Linked DNA regions of Homo sapiens: region 1 is linked to region 2. Evidence: promoter capture Hi-C in human tissues and cell types (Jung and others, 2019). All regions are on one chromosome and are shown on one strand. Each heading gives the region's core, a stretch centred on a gene start or on the middle of the fragment in contact. The rest is flanking DNA. Distances are from core to core; before and after follow the strand shown.

What was found. The method cuts DNA at HindIII sites, captures the fragments that hold promoters and counts their contacts. A contact is called where the count stands out against the background at its distance.
Region 1: a contact is called between a fragment that was not itself captured here and the fragment with the promoter of LRTM2 in region 2, in 7 of the 25 tissues and cell types used here (IMR-90 fibroblasts, bladder, dorsolateral prefrontal cortex and 4 more).

Annotation. Positions count from the first base shown.
Region 1 is chr12:1,881,829-1,889,190 of GRCh38, reverse strand. It overlaps CACNA2D4 (calcium voltage-gated channel auxiliary subunit alpha2delta 4), which reads left to right. Exons shown (of 38, transcript NM_172364.5): 7 at 2,122-2,182; 8 at 2,818-2,968; 9 at 3,152-3,226; 10 at 4,115-4,204; 11 at 4,310-4,423; 12 at 4,870-4,948; 13 at 6,191-6,324. LOC124902858 (a long non-coding RNA gene) reads right to left here and starts at 4,985. Exons shown (of 3, transcript XR_007063158.1): 1 at 4,888-4,985; 2 at 3,141-3,336; 3 at 1-2,935. The HindIII fragment of the contact is 3,944 bases long and covers 1,202-5,145 here.
Region 2 is chr12:1,816,903-1,824,588 of GRCh38, reverse strand. LRTM2 (leucine rich repeat transmembrane protein 2) reads right to left here and starts at 4,024. Exons shown (of 5, transcript NM_001039029.3): 1 at 3,775-4,024. All of the region lies in intron 26 of CACNA2D4 (calcium voltage-gated channel auxiliary subunit alpha2delta 4), which reads left to right. It overlaps LOC105369601 (a long non-coding RNA gene), which reads right to left. Exons shown (of 5, transcript XR_931546.3): 5 at 5,783-7,355. RefSeq lists an enhancer at 3,708-4,454. The HindIII fragment of the contact is 8,239 bases long and covers 1,137-7,686 here.

The DNA of each region.
Region 1 (7,362 bases), core at 1,924-4,423, 65 kb before region 2:
CTGCTTTAGATTGTGTTTATCTACAAATGTTTCCTTTTATCCTCATTCTTGAATGATAGTTTTGCTGACAATGCAATTCTAAATCAATAATTCTATTCTCTCAACATCTTAAAACTGTTTATCCACTGTCTTCTGGCTTTCATTGATGTTGGGAAAATCTACCAGTTTAACTGCTCTTCCTTTGTAGGTGTCGTGGGCTTTCTGGCTGCCTTCGTGGTATTTGTTTATTTATTTATTTGCCTTCGAAGTTCTGCAGTTCCAATACTATGTGTCTATATGTGGATATCTTTTTATTCATGCTGTTTGGGATACGCTGTGCTTCCTAGATCTGTGGAATTGGATTTTTAATCAGTTCTAGAATATTTGCCAGTATCATCTCTTCAACCATCACCTTTCCTCCATGCTCTCCCTTTTCTCTTTCTGTGACTCCAATCAGATGTGTATTAAACCTTCTCATTCCAGCCTCAGTAGAACTCTGGATACATCCACAAATGTATGCATTTTCTTTTTACCCATGAATAAAGCACTATCCATTTAATTTATTTTTTTCAACCTATACATTTTTTCATCTCCGAAAGCTTCATATTTGCAAGGCTGTTTCTTCATTCCTGGTCATTTCTTGTATGTTCTTTGTATTATGTGTTCTTCTCATACCTACCTAGTTTGTGTTTGGTATTTGGCCATTCCAACATCTGTAATTCTTGAGAAGCTATATCCAGCTCTTGAGGTAGCTCTTGAGTCTGCTGCCTCCCACTAATAGGGGTCTGCTCCTTATGTATTTGGGAATCTTTGCTTGTGAGGCCATGCTGCTTGTCCTCTTCAGAGTCCAGTGGGTCTGAGTTGGGAATCCACAAGAAAATTCGCTTCTGTTTCCGCTTGGACTTGAGGGTACCCTCATCCAGGACCTCCAAAGTCCTCTTCGAAGATTTTGGTTAAGAGCCAGTAATCTCAGACTCAGCTTCTCCTCCTCATTGCTGTTCTAAGGATCAAATTCCCCATGACCATGTTGCTGTAAGAATGTGGCCTCAGGAAAGCCCTACCTCCCATGACTGCCTGCAAGACTAGGTCAGACCAGTGGTACTCAAGCTCCCATCACACCACACTCCCATGGCTCTGCTTCCCACCTTCAAGGCTTTGGGTGCTAGCTGACCTCACACATATGCCTCACGCCTGGGGCTCTGTTCTCATTTGTTTGGTTTTGAGATCATGGTCTCTGACAACCTCTCCTACCTTTGAGATGCCAGCAATGCCTCAAAGGGTGTATGTCATCTGAAGTCTAACCACTGTGGAGGAGGAAGGGCCCTTGGAGCTTCTAGACATTCATAATACTGCTACAATCATTTTGTCTATCCCAATCACAACATATTGCAATTCCACCTGTTATTTTTACTCTTCTTCTTTTAAACCCACTATTCCCAATCATAAAGTCTTTTCAAATCGAGATTCTATTGTGGATCATGTCAGTGTTTTCTGTGCATCTATACAAATTTTTTTATTAGGTGGATAGGATAAAAATCTACACCAGCATTCTGCTACTGGGTCAACGCAAGATCTTTCATATCCATTCATTTGTCCTTTCATTCAAGTAACAGACATTTATTAAGCATATACTCTGCTGGGTTCTAGGAATCCCTGACCTCAAAGAGCCTACAGTCATAGAGCCAAATCATTTCTCCCATCCCAGCCAACAGGAAGGATCCTGAGTGCTAATGAGCTTAACACCTAGAGGCAAGTGTGTTAGAAGTCAGAGCACTTGCCTTTTTCAACATTTTGTCCACACTTTGCTGGATGGTAATGGATGTTAAAAGTCACACTTCTCCAAAGCTTCCCCCTCCACTATTTGATATGAGGTTTTGCCTCACAAATGAGTCCCAGGCACCACCTATGTGGTCCTACCTGTGAAATTACCCCCAGCTCTGCATCTGGGCAGTTTGGCTGGTAGATGTCTCCTTGCCAGCTTGTCTCAGTCTACAGGGCATGTCCCAGTGTTCCCCACCCTGTTCCCTAGCTCCAAAGCTGTTCTGCCCTGGGGATCATGGCCATCTTGGGGGTCCACACCCAGCCAGGGGATCTGGGGTGGCCTCACCAAGCTAGTAAAAGAACGAGTCTTTATTCTCCCAGGTATAAAATGGACACCTGATGAGAATGGAGTCATTACTTTTGACTGCCGAAACCGCGGCTGGTAAGAGCTCACAGGGGAAAGGTTTGCGGCCCGGGTATTTATCTCATAGCTTTTGGGTTTTGCCTCATCCTCCTCCACTTCCGCCCCTTCCCCCACCGCCACTCAAGGGCCTTGGGTGTGTAGAACCCTAGCCCGACACAAGAGCAGGAAGAGGGCCAGCATTCCTCCCTTCCCTCTACAATTGCCTTGCTCCAGGACTGATCATGTTTGTCTTTCCCAACCTAAACCTCCTGCCAGGACACTGAGCTGTCTCCACGTCAACCTTTTGTTAGGCTCTCCTCTCCTTCCACACCCCTTTTGTGGCAAGTTGGTAACAGAATCTGAAGCCCAGCTCTCTCCCTTTCTGCTGCCAGCCCCTCAGGGACCCCGGTTGGTCTAAATCAAAAGGAACAAGCGTTACCTCCAGGGCTTGACCTGGCCTGTTAGGTGGCACATCCCCAACCACTGCCACCCCAGATGGCTTCAGCACTGTGTCAAGTGGTTATGGAACATGTGAAACCTGGCATAGATGGGTTGCCCTGAACTTTGGGTGGGCTCGAGCCAGCATCTGAACAGAAATAACTGCAGACCCCTTGGTCAGGTATTGGTTCCGGCTTTGGTTTTCCCATCTTGGGCATGTCCCTTTCTTCCTTCAGGTACATTCAAGCTGCTACTTCTCCCAAGGACATAGTGATTTTGGTGGACGTGAGCGGCAGTATGAAGGGGCTGAGGATGACTATTGCCAAGCACACCATCACCACCATCTTGGACACCCTGGGGGAGAATGACTTCATTAATATCATAGCGGTAAATGTGCCTTCCTGTTCTAGAATAGCTCTCACTTGCTCTAGAAATCATACACAGGTACCAAGGTGACCCACAACCCCTGACCACCCGGTGACCTGCATGAGTGTCTTTGCTGGGCCTGGACTTTGCAACCTGATGCTGTTTATTCTCCCCCCACCTCCCCTCAACTCACTGCAACTGCAGTACAATGACTACGTCCATTACATCGAGCCTTGTTTTAAAGGGATCCTCGTCCAGGCGGACCGAGACAATCGAGAGGTGAGTGTCCACGGTGGCCTGAGACTTCCAAGCCCCTGCTCTTGTCTGGATGGTGGGCGGTTGTCTCTGTAGACTGTTTCTGTGGCCCTTTTTGCTTATTCCCATGGCACCTGGAATGAGAGCAGAGCACGTTACCCATGCAAACAACCCAGGGAACCGCCCTGTAAACACACTGCTGCTTATCAGAGCAAACAGTGAGCAGATAGAGACCTCATAGCAAAGGGAACCTTCCTTATTCAGGACTGGTTTTTCACCCTGTGGATTATATAGGACTCAATTTCCCCTTTTGCCTCCCACCTGGACCTTTCCATTATGTCAGTTTTCATGAGAAGCTTCCCCGAAAGGAGGACAAATTTAAACTTCATTGAGTGTCATCCTTTCCTCTGGTAAAAGACCAAGGAGGAGAGGACATGGCAATAATTTTTTAAAGAGAGCTTTTGCACATCATAGATTCCTCCCTCTGTGATGGAGGAGTTGGGGTTTGAGTTCCTCTTGAAGCCGGGCCTCTGCCCTGGGCACCTCCACACTTTCTGCTGTGAAGTGTGCACCCCTGGGCTGCGGGCTGCGGGCTGTGGTCTGGGAGCCGAGGTTACCCTGCCTCCATCCCAGAACTGTCCTCCCCCTGTACTCAGCTTCACACTTGGCGTTTCCCATCAATAGTGGCCATGGATGTGTACCAAGTCATTTCCCCTCTCTCAGTTTATCTTGGGGACATTTGAGAAACACCTATTGTAGAGGACCAGTCCATGAACTGCATCATGGAGACACAGGCCCTGAAATCATGTCCTTCTGGATGGCCCTAAACAGCCTCCCAAATTAACACCAAACATGAAGCTCCACTGGCCCACTCAACCCCCTGATGCTTCTCTAATATCTCACCCATGGCAGCATTTCAAACTGCTGGTGGAGGAGTTGATGGTCAAAGGTGTGGGGGTCGTGGACCAAGCCCTGAGAGAAGCCTTCCAGATCCTGAAGCAGGTGCCCACTGTAATGAGGCCTGGGAGGGGAGGACTGGGAGGAAGGCGGCAGGTGGAGGGGGGTGGGCTTGGCCTGTGGTCATGGGCACTCCTCTTCCCTACACAGTTCCAAGAGGCCAAGCAAGGAAGCCTCTGCAACCAGGCCATCATGCTCATCAGCGACGGCGCCGTGGAGGACTACGAGCCGGTGTTTGAGAAGTATAACTGGCCAGACTGTAAGGTGACCCTCCCACGGGTGTCCAGGGAGAAAAAAGCTTCTCCTGCTGCCATGGATGGGATCACCAGCAGGGACCCTAGAAGGATGGCCCCCATTCAAATCTGCTTTCCTATTAGAGCCATTCTTGCTTTCAGATGCATTTTAATTGAGTGTTCCAAAATTATGGCTACCCGAGACACAGAGGCCTGATGTAGGAAGTTTGGGGTAAGGGACCAGAATATGGTTTGGGGACATCAGAACTGCCAGGCTGTAAATCTCAGCCTTGCACCTACCCGCAGTCCCCATGGCCCTGGGCGAATTGTGTTGCTGCCTGGGCCTCAGGGGGTGAAATTGGAGAACCCGAAGACTGAGAGGCACTGGGGCCAACATCTAAGACTCATATAAACAATGTTAACATTACTTATGGCCGGGAATTTTGCTGCTGAGTGCCTCTGTGTCTTGTGGGTTAGGTCCGAGTTTTCACTTACCTCATTGGGAGAGAAGTGTCTTTTGCTGACCGCATGAAGTGGATTGCATGCAACAACAAAGGTGAGTGCCGGGCCAGCAGGTACCTTCCCACCTGCACCTGAGCACAGGAGACAGGGTTACCCAGCCCTGGAAGTGCTGAGCACGGGCTTCCCCATGGGCCCCTAAGAGGAGCAGTGCTATGTCAAGAACAGCAGCCTCAGTCCCTCCTTCATATTTGGAAAAAGCAAGGTGAGACAATGTCAGCTCTGTCTCCATCCTGCCCCCATTCTTTCTTTCAGCAAAGTAAGCCATGGACTCTGGTTCTGCTCCCAGACAAAAAGCAGAGGGTCACTGTTTTCTCTGGAATAATGTTTTGTGTGTGAATGGTCCTCATCTATCTCTGACCAGACCCCATTGATTCAACAAAAATTCACTGAGCATCCACTATGCACCTGGCCCCATTTCCAGGCACCAGGGGACCAAGAGGGATCAGGATGGACTCAGGGTCGGTCTACCTCTCAGTATTGTCCAGCAGGGAGACATACAAGTAAAACACCACCCACGATGCAGCCTGAAATGTGCTTTGATGGTGGAGAGACACAGACTGTTCAGGGTGCCGGGGGCCATGGGGGAGGCACTCTCCAAGTCAGTGGGGCGACTGGAAGGGTGTTCCAGACAGAGGGAACAGTGTGCTGAAAGGGTCTGAGACCTGCTGGGAGCAGAGAGGTGCTGCATCTCACTGGCGAGGGGGATGAACACGGTGGGAGGTGGGGGCGTGGAGAGGCCATTCACAGCCTTCTGCGCCATCTGCGCTTTGGAGTGTCACCATGGTTCCAGGGAATAGGCTGTAACACCCACCCCACAACCTGAGCAAGAACAAGGACCAGAGGAAGGAGGAGCGGAGAGGCAGAAATCTCTGCCTCTGATTGGGTTCCCTGAAGAGACCTAAGAGTGGCAGAAGAAAGCTTACAGGGCACTCTCATGAGATGTTCCTGTGAGGAAGTGGGAGGGCGAGGCTGGGAGAGGGAGAGGCTGACCCCCAACACTCTTGCGTCAGGCCCTGCTGCTCCTTCCGGAGCTCTGGGTGGGACAGCCCCTCAGAGATCTTCCAGGGTGCAGCAGAGTGAGCCTTGGCCTCCCACTGGCCTGCGGCTGCCCCTGGGTAAAGGACACAACTGTGGGGAAGCAGCTCCCTGTGCCCCGGTCCAGTTTCCAGAGAGTATTCGGCTATGAGCCATCTGCAGCTGGGGAGGGTGCAGGCCCTGGCGAGGGGTTCCCAGGGAAGCCCTGCCTTCCACACCCACGCGGCCTTCCCCACCGCAGGCTACTACACGCAGATCTCAACGCTGGCGGACACCCAGGAGAACGTGATGGAATACCTGCACGTGCTCAGCCGCCCCATGGTCATCAACCACGACCACGACATCATCTGGACAGAGGCCTACATGGACAGCAAGGTGAGCCTGGCAGCAGCTCCCAGCTCGAGAAGCCCACCTCAGAGTTAGGGACCCCAGGGAGTAAGAAGTTACTTCCTGGGTCAGGAAAGGGGTGGGCCTAGCACCTCCTTAGGGAACATTAAGAAGGGGCGAATGAAGCCGCTTTTCCATGCTTTTCCTCCTCTTTTCCTGACAGCCCTTGGCCCACTAATGGGACCACTGCTCATATGCTGCCTTAGACCCCCAGCAGACCTGCCTGAGGTGCTCTCCACGGACAGGGTCCCTGCTCCGAAGTTGTTCCTTCCTCCTCCTCCACAGTCCTCGCCTCCCTCATCATCCCTCCCTCCCACCCACCCGGGACAGAAAGGGGTCAGACCAAGAATCCACCATCCCACAGCTGGAACACGTTCTCCCTTCCTGGGTCCCTGCATTTTCAAAGGACTGTAGGCAGCAATGACTTGCACGAAAGAATGAACATCAAAGGGAGAGCTTCACATGGGACCTTTCTGGGGAAGGGAGACCTTTCTGCCATTTCTCAAATCCCCATCACATAGGCAGCCACCTGCTTCAGTGATGATGTATCAGGCTGGGCTCCAGAGAGACCTGAAAAGAGTGGCTTAAATAAGATAGAAGTGAATGTCCCCCTTGGGTAAACAAAGCCCAGAGCTGACCACGAGCTCTCTGGCCTGGTCATCAGGGACCCAGGCTCCTCCCTGCTGTCCCCTTTGCTGTCCCAGCCATGTGGCCCTCATCCTCATGCTCAGGAGGCTGGTGGAACATGAGTCAACTGAAACCACACTTAAGCATCAGGCTGTGGAAGGGGAAGGGGGATACTTCGCCCCTGTGAGGGAAACTTGCAGGGACTCTTGCCAGAACCCAGAATTCACCTTTCACTGGCCAGAACTCAGTCCCTGTGCTGACAAAGGAGGCTGGGAATGCAACGAGGCAATGGTCAGCTTTCTTCTGAGTTGCTCTATGTCCAAAAGCAGTGGCATGCTTACTTACCTCCACCTGTTAATAGTAGACATAAGCCATCTGGCCAAATTTGGGATGAAAAGC
Region 2 (7,686 bases), core at 2,775-5,274:
CATGGCCTCATCCACTCTGGATGCTGGGCCTGCTCCTAACCCAGTCCTAGAGACAGGGAGGCCAAAGATAAGGGGCCAGGCCTCCACGGAGTCCCTGGCCTCCCTTCCAGAGAGAGCCAGGATTGGAGAATGGGGCTGAAGAGCTCAAAGCAGTCAAATGAGGAACTCTGGAGGGCCAGAAACATGGGGCTTTGAGTGTAGACCATTGCAACTCAAAGTGTGGTCCATGGACCAGCGGCATTGGTCTAGCTTGGGAGCCTTGTAGGAAGGTAGTCTCAGGGCCCATCCAGAATGACTGAGTCAGAATCCGCATTTTAACAAGATCCCCAGGGGATTTTCATGCATATTTGAGTTTGATACGACTAGGCCGGGCACCTCTCAGCAGGGCAAACGGCCACCGAGGAGACCATGCTGGCCTGTCCCTGAGCCTCCAGGACCCACTGAGAAGCTAACTGGGACCTGGGGAGAAAAAAATTACCACAGTCACAAACCTGTGTAGTTTTCTGAATCCTTGTAACAACTCTCTGAGGTTAGTGTTCTTGTTACTATCATTTTGCAGATGGGGGAAACTGAGGCACCAGAAATGAAATAACTCACCTAAAGTTAGGCAAATGGAATCATATGGCTCTGAGCCCGAGCTCTCTGGCTCCTAACTCAGTTGTCTGTCTGCTTACACGTGGGGGTTACTTGTACAGGAAAGGCAGAGGTAGGAAAGGAAGATGCCGCCTTTCCTCTGAATGGTCCTCTGCAGTGTCCACGGCATTGCCTGATCCACTCCCGCTGGAGCTGAGAAGGCAGCTGTTTTTGTCCCCATTGCCCTGATGAAGGAACAGGCTTTGTGACTTGCTGGACTGAGATGCAAGCAAGACAGGTTCTCCTCTTCCCAGCCTCTCTTCTTGAAGTCCTGGGAGGCCAAGATCTTACGGAAGGTGGGGGGCTTTCTAGAAACCTTTCTGGCTGGGGGTTGTGTGCTGAGGTGAGGGGAGTAGGCCGGAGCTCTGTTCTGGGGGAGCCAAGGCTGGGGAGGCCATGGGGGAGCAGGAGGCCCCAGTAGGAGCAGGGGGTTCCACATGCGGAGCTGAGTGGGCTGTAGCCACCCCAGGAGACTGGGAGTGGGAGCTGCCTCCCTGCTAGCACCCCACTCGGCCCCCTCAGAGCACGGAACAGCCGCACGCACTCACTCACTGCAGAGAGCTAGGTTGGGACGGCAGGAGCCTGGACCGCTCCATGCACCTGCCCCTTCCATTTCTCCTCAGATGGAGGTTAATTAATCAGTCTCAGACTCTAGCTAGAAACCTCCAGCACACTCACCACAGACCTGGTGTCCGCACCCTTCCTCTCAGGCTTCTGCGCATGTCTATCCCTCCACATCAAGCATCCAAGACACACAGCCAGATAATGCCCATCGGGCCTCCACCTCTGAATTCCTGACTCCTGGGCCATCACACTAGCCCTAGGGTGTGCCCACTCCCCTGGCATCTCCCCTTGGTCAAGAGTCCATACCCCTCAGCATGGAAGAGTCACAGAACTCAGGGGTAAAGGGGGCATTTGCAGCCTACTCTGCCGCCCCCTTCACTCTGCAGAAGGCCAGAGAGAAGCAGAGCCACGACTGGGCCCACACCCTGGGCCTGCAGGGGCCGTGCCCTTCCACCAACCCCAGGAAGGCTGAGAGGGAGCCCGGAGAGTGGCCAGCCAGAGCCCCGGGCCAAAGACGGCCCGAGATTCCATGTGGCCAGGACGCAGGGGAGGCTGCCACAGCCGTCTAGGCTGGGCTCCGCCTACCGCTGCCTGTCTGGGCACCCAGGCCCTCTAGGACAGCTGCCCATCACCCCCATCACACACACTGCCCAGGCAGCAAGGAACCAGGTTTTAAAAATCTCTATATTTGTACTTGGAACAGCCATATACCCTCCTGGTTCATTTTAAAACACATGCCCCATCCTCACCCCCAGCCTCCTGCACCCCCGTTTCCTTGTCAAATATTCTCAATCTCAAACAGACCCTCTGGGAAGCAGAACAGAGAAGCCTCCTGAGTGGCCCCTCATGGGAGCTGGTCCCTGACATGAAGGAGGCTAAGGTGTCCACTGGGCCCTGGGGCCGGGCTCAGGGTGGTGTCCCTGGGGCTGGGCTCAGGGTGGTATTCCCAGGCAGGGCACAGGAGGCTTGGCTGGGGGAAAAAGGAGGAAGACCAGAGGGGCAGACAGCCTCTATGCTGGCTCCTTTCTCCTCTGCCCACCCCCAGAACTCCCAGACACCCCCAACCATCACATACATGCCATCCCCTCCTCCTTCCTACACTGCCCACTGAGGCCATAGCAGCCCAGAGGCGGCCCCTGGGCTCTGGTGCCTGGGAAACGGGAGCAGAGTTTGCTCCTCGTGGGCCCAGACAAGCTTCTGTCAAACCCCAAAGACACCAGATCGGCTGCTTAAGCAGCCTCTCTCCTTACCCCTCCCCGCGGGCCTGGCTTTCCTGGTCTCCCTCTTTTGGCAGTGCTGAGACTTTCTTTCTGCCGGTGGGGAGGTGGGGGTGGGAAAAGCTGGGCTCTTCTTGGCAGCTCGGAAGCTGCTGTCGGGTTTCCCTACCAGCTGGACTTCCCCCGCCTCAGCTCCACGTGCTCGGCTCCCTCCCCGCCCCCACCTGAGGCAGTTATCTAAGCTGCAGGGGTGTCATCTGAGTCACAAAGAGACACTGCCCAAGTAGCCCTGACAGCCGGGTGCCAACACCCCCCAGAAATGTGGACAGCTTGGGGGTGGGGGAGAGACAGGGCCGCCAACTGGAACCCAGCCCCAGACCTGCAGGGAGGTGCAGGAATGTGAACTTCCGACTCCTGGTCAGGCTGCTCCTCTCTCCAGCACTGTCCAAATGGGTCTGGGGGATTGAGAGCAACTGTCCCGCTCTACTCAGGGTGTCCATGCCCCCTGTGTGGGTCAAGAAGCCAGGCAGGCCTGGCCCCGCTGTGTACCCCCCACCCAAGCTCAGTGTCCAGCCCCCACTAAGGCTCCCTGACCCATTTGCAGATGGACGGCTGGGTGCACAGCTGCGGGACACCCCAGCAGGTTCTCGCGGGCCTGGTTCTCCTGTCTTGCCCTTGGGCTAGCAGGGAAGGGCTGCGATACTTCTCTCTCCTGCCCACTCCCAGCCTCACCCTCACCAGGGAGGCTTCATGCACAGCTGAGTGGGCCCATGCTCATCTGGGGGAGGGTTCCTCCACACCCTTGTCCAAGGACAGCCACCTGCAGGCAAGCTATAGGGAGGCCCAGGACCTGGGTCTGTGCCCATGCCTCTGACATCCAGGACCTCCTCCCTGCCACCCTCCACCCCAAGCCTTCCTCTGACCTGGCCCTGTCCCCAGCACCTGACTGCCATCCCAACCGCTTCCCATGACCCCCGAGTTTCTTGGGGCTGTCTGTGCAGAGCCGGGCACAACGACAGCACAAGGCTCTTGGCTGCTTCTCCCATGCTGCAGGGACCGGTTTCTATGCCACCCGGGACTGTCATCTGGCGCCAGCGCTGCCCTCCTCCCCACTTCCCAGCAGAATCCACAGCTCTTGTCCCCAGCACTGTGGGCTCAGAGTTCCCAGTGTCGTGCACCTTTGGGATGCTCAGGTGCCTGAGCCCGAGCAGCTTCTTCGGCCCCAGCAATTGCCTGCAGGTAGGAAGCAACTGCAGCTATTCCTGCAGGGCAGAGATGGCCGGTGCCCACTTCCCATGCCCCGACCACCCCCTGTCCCCACCAACCCTCCATTCCTTCCTACCAGCCACTCGGTACTCACCCGTCTTTACTCTGACTGCAAACGCCTTCAATCAGGTGGCTCTCAACCCTCCAGTAAGACCCTCCTGGGATTCCTATAGAAATCCAGACACCACCGGCAGGCAGAGCGCAGTGGGCACTGGTGCCAGAGTCTCCACTCAGCGGGAGCAGCGGCTGGCACGCAGCACACAGCACCAGGAGGTGGACTGCTTGTGGCAGACGGGGGACGGGGCTGCTGGGTCAGTCACAAACTGAGAAGGAAAGAGAGGGATGGAGGGAGAGAGAGAGAGGAGAGAGGGAAGAAAGGGGCGAGGGAGGAGAGCGCACGCGTGTGCGCGAGCAGCGAGCCAGAGTGGAGCGGGGAGTGACAGCTGGGGTGCATCTGTGATGACAGCGGCAGCAGCACACACAGGCGCACACCAGAGGCACCACGGCCGGCCGCGAGGGCAGCGCTCACCCTGGCCACGCTCACATTTCAGTGGAAAAAGGCGCCTGTGGATGAATCGCTGCCGACCACAGGGAGGAGGAAAGCGGTTTCACCACCACCTCCATCTTCCATCCTGCGCCTCCAGGCTCTCCCTCACCCCCCCGGCTGCACCTGTCTTCTGTGCCTCTCTCCTCTCTTCCCCTCCATCTGGGGAAAGAGGGACAGGCGCAGACACAGAGCAAGCGGCTGACTTCTGTTCCGATGGAGGCCCCCCTGGGAAGCTGGTCTTTCTCCTGTTTTAGAGACATGCGAGGCAGAGTCTCCCATCCTGCCTGAGAGAAGGAAAAACCGAACCCTTCTCTCGGTCATACGAAAGAAGGGTACACAGGCATGTCCATGTGCCAGATGACCCTACAGGAAAGGGCCCTGAGCCCCCACAAAGCCAGGGATCACATGGTCATGCAGAGGTCACTGAGCCTCAGGGTCTGACCACCCGACGCCAGGACTACTTAGGGAAGCAGAATGCCAGAGTTGGCAGGCTGGGAGTTTGGGCACAGGGCAGCCTGCAGCAGCAGCCTGCAGACCGTTCTCAGTGCCAGGGACGAGCTTGGCTTCTCAGGGCTCCTTGCTCTTATCTGTGATGGGTCAGGCATGCGAAGGGAAGAGACTGTCATTCAAGAACTTGGAGGCCTCTTTCTTAACCAATCAGGACAAAGCAAGTCAGAAAAATTGATATCCTAAGAGATGGGAAGTGGCTGATCTGAAGGCCAAGTGAGTCAGGGACCAAGCTAGAGGGGAGCCAGGGCCCCACCAGCCTGGAGCACGAACCCTAAATCCCCCTTCCTTTGCGTCCACTGCCTGTAGACAGATGAAGCACCGTGCTAGCGATATATCACCGTGTCCTATGTCCCTCTTCCATTTTGCCTGCTTTGCTGGAGGGGTTCACAGCCAGGACTGGGGTGGGTGTAGAAGAACCCCCTGGACTCAGGATGCCCCTAGAAGGATGCTCCTGCTCACTCCCTTCTGTCCGTTCTGCCGGGTCCCCGGGCAGCACAAGGCTTGAGCTGCAGTGTCTTTTACCTCTGGGGAGTCCCGCCTCTGACCTCTCATGCTGGTGCCTCCCACACATCCCACTGTCAAGCAAAAGAGGCTCCCACCTCCCCATAAACATACTTCCTGCTTCTCCATCTCCATGAAAGCGTGTTCTTCCCTGGGCCTGAAATGCTCTCCTGCCCATGGGTGGCTTCCCCCTTCCTTAAACGCCCCCTGCAAGGTGACGTTTCCCCGGAACACCACAGGACTGGCCCTGCTCCTCCTCCGATCTCTGGCATTCTCTTTGGGCCACCCTCATGTTGTGCAGGAGCTTTCTGTGGTCTGCTTCATCTCCTTTCCTTTTTTTTTTTTTTTTAATTTTTTTAGTATTTATTGATCATTCTTGGGTGTTTCTCGGAGAGGGGGATTTGGCAGGGTCATAGGACAATAGTGGAGGGAAGGTCAGCAGATAAACATGTGAACAAAGGTCTCTGGTTTTCCTAGGCAGAGGGCCCTGCCGCCTTCCGCAGTGTTTGTGTCCCTGGGTACTTGAGATTAGGGAGTGGTGATGACTCTTTTTTTTTTTTTTTAATTTATTTATTTATTTTTTATTGATCATTCTTGGGTGTTTCTCGCAGAGGGGGATTTGGCAGGGTCATAGGACAATAGTGGAGGGAAGGTCAGCAGATAAACAAGTGAACAAAGGTCTCTGGTTTTCCTAGGCAGAGGACCCTGCGGCCTTCCGCAGTGTTTGTGTCCCTGGGTACTTGAGATTAGGGAGTGGTGATGACTTTTAACGAGCATGCTGCCTTCAAGCATCTGTTTAACAAAGCACATCTTGCACCGCCCTTAATCCATTTAACCCTGAGTGGACACAGCACATGTTTCAGTGAGCACAGGGTTGGGAGTAAGGTCACAGATCAACAGGATCCCAAGACAGAGGAATTTTTCTTAGTGCAGAACAAAATGAAAAGTCTCCCATGTCTACTTCTTTCTACACAGACACGGCAACCATCCGATTTCTCAATCTTTTCCCCACCTTTCCCGCCTTTCTATTCCACAAAGCCACCATTGTCATCCTGGCCCGTTCTCAATGAGCTGTTGGGCACACCTCCCAGACTGGGTGGTGGCCGGGCAGAGGGGCTCCTCACTTCCCAGTAGGGGCGGCCGGGCGGAGACGCTCCTCACTTCTCAGACGGGGCGGCTGCCGGGCGGAGGGGCTCCTCACTTCCCAGACGGGGTCGCGGCCGGGAAGAGACGCTCCTCACATCCCAGACGGGGCGGTGGGGCAGAGGCGCTCCCCACATCTCAGACGATGGGCGGCCGGGCAGAGACGCTCCTCACTTCCTAGATGGGATGGCGGCCGGGCAGAGGCGCTCCTCACTTCCCAGACTGGGCAGCCAGACAGAGAGGCTCCTCACATCCCAGACGATGGGCGGCCAGGCGGAGACGCTCCTCACTTCCCAGACGGGGTGGTGGCCGGGCAGAGGCTGCAATCTCGGCACTTTGGGAGGCCAAGGCAGGCGGCTGGGAGGTGGAGGTTGTAGCGAGCCGAGATCACGCCACTGCACTCCAGCCTGGGCACCATTGAGCACTGAGTGAACCAGACTCCGTCTGCAATCCCGGCACCTCGGGAGGCCGAGGCTGGCGGATCACTCGCGGTTAGGAGCTGGAGACCAGCCCGGCCAACACAGCGAAACCCCGTCTCCACCAAAAAAATATGAAAACCAGTCAGGCGTGGCGGCGCACGCCTGCAATCGCAGGCACTTGGCAGGCTGAGGCAGGAGAATCAGGCAGGGAGGTTGCAGTGAGCCGAGATGGCAGCAGTACAGTCCAGCTTCGGCTCGGCATCAGAGGGAGACCGGGGAAAGAGAGGGAGAGGGAGACCGTGGGGAGAGGGGAGAGGGGAGAGGGAGTCATCTCCTTTCCTACACAGAGCTGTTCAAGCAGGGGGACTGGCCTCACCTGTTCCGTGTCCTTCAGGCCCCAGTGCCTTCGTGTCAACTGAGTGAGGAATGGAGGACATGAAAGAGCTCAAGACTGGGCATCAGGGGACCCAGACTCCAGACTCTGTTGCTCAGTGACTAGCTAGCTAGTGAGTTCACTCAGCAGCCCTGGGCCTTGTGCTGGCTGGGATTCCTGCCCTGCAGAATGAGGAGATGGGTTGAGATCTCTGGTCTCCCTTCTGGCACTGGCCTTCTGTGACCTAAGTATTCGCTGTGCACCTGTCGGGTCCTCAGCTTGTGTTACAAAAGATGATCCCTCTCATGCCCCACAGTCCCTATCCCGTGCAACACGCAGTCTCCTGGTTAGGTTCTCAAGACAGAGGAGGAGGAAAGAGAAGCAGATAAAGGGCTAGGAGGGCAAAGCTGGAGCTTCTGACTCCTGGGACCACAGCACTCAACAGTGTGCAAACTCATATGTTCATGTGCATGCTATGTATGTGCATGTGTGTGTACGTATGTGTGCATGTGC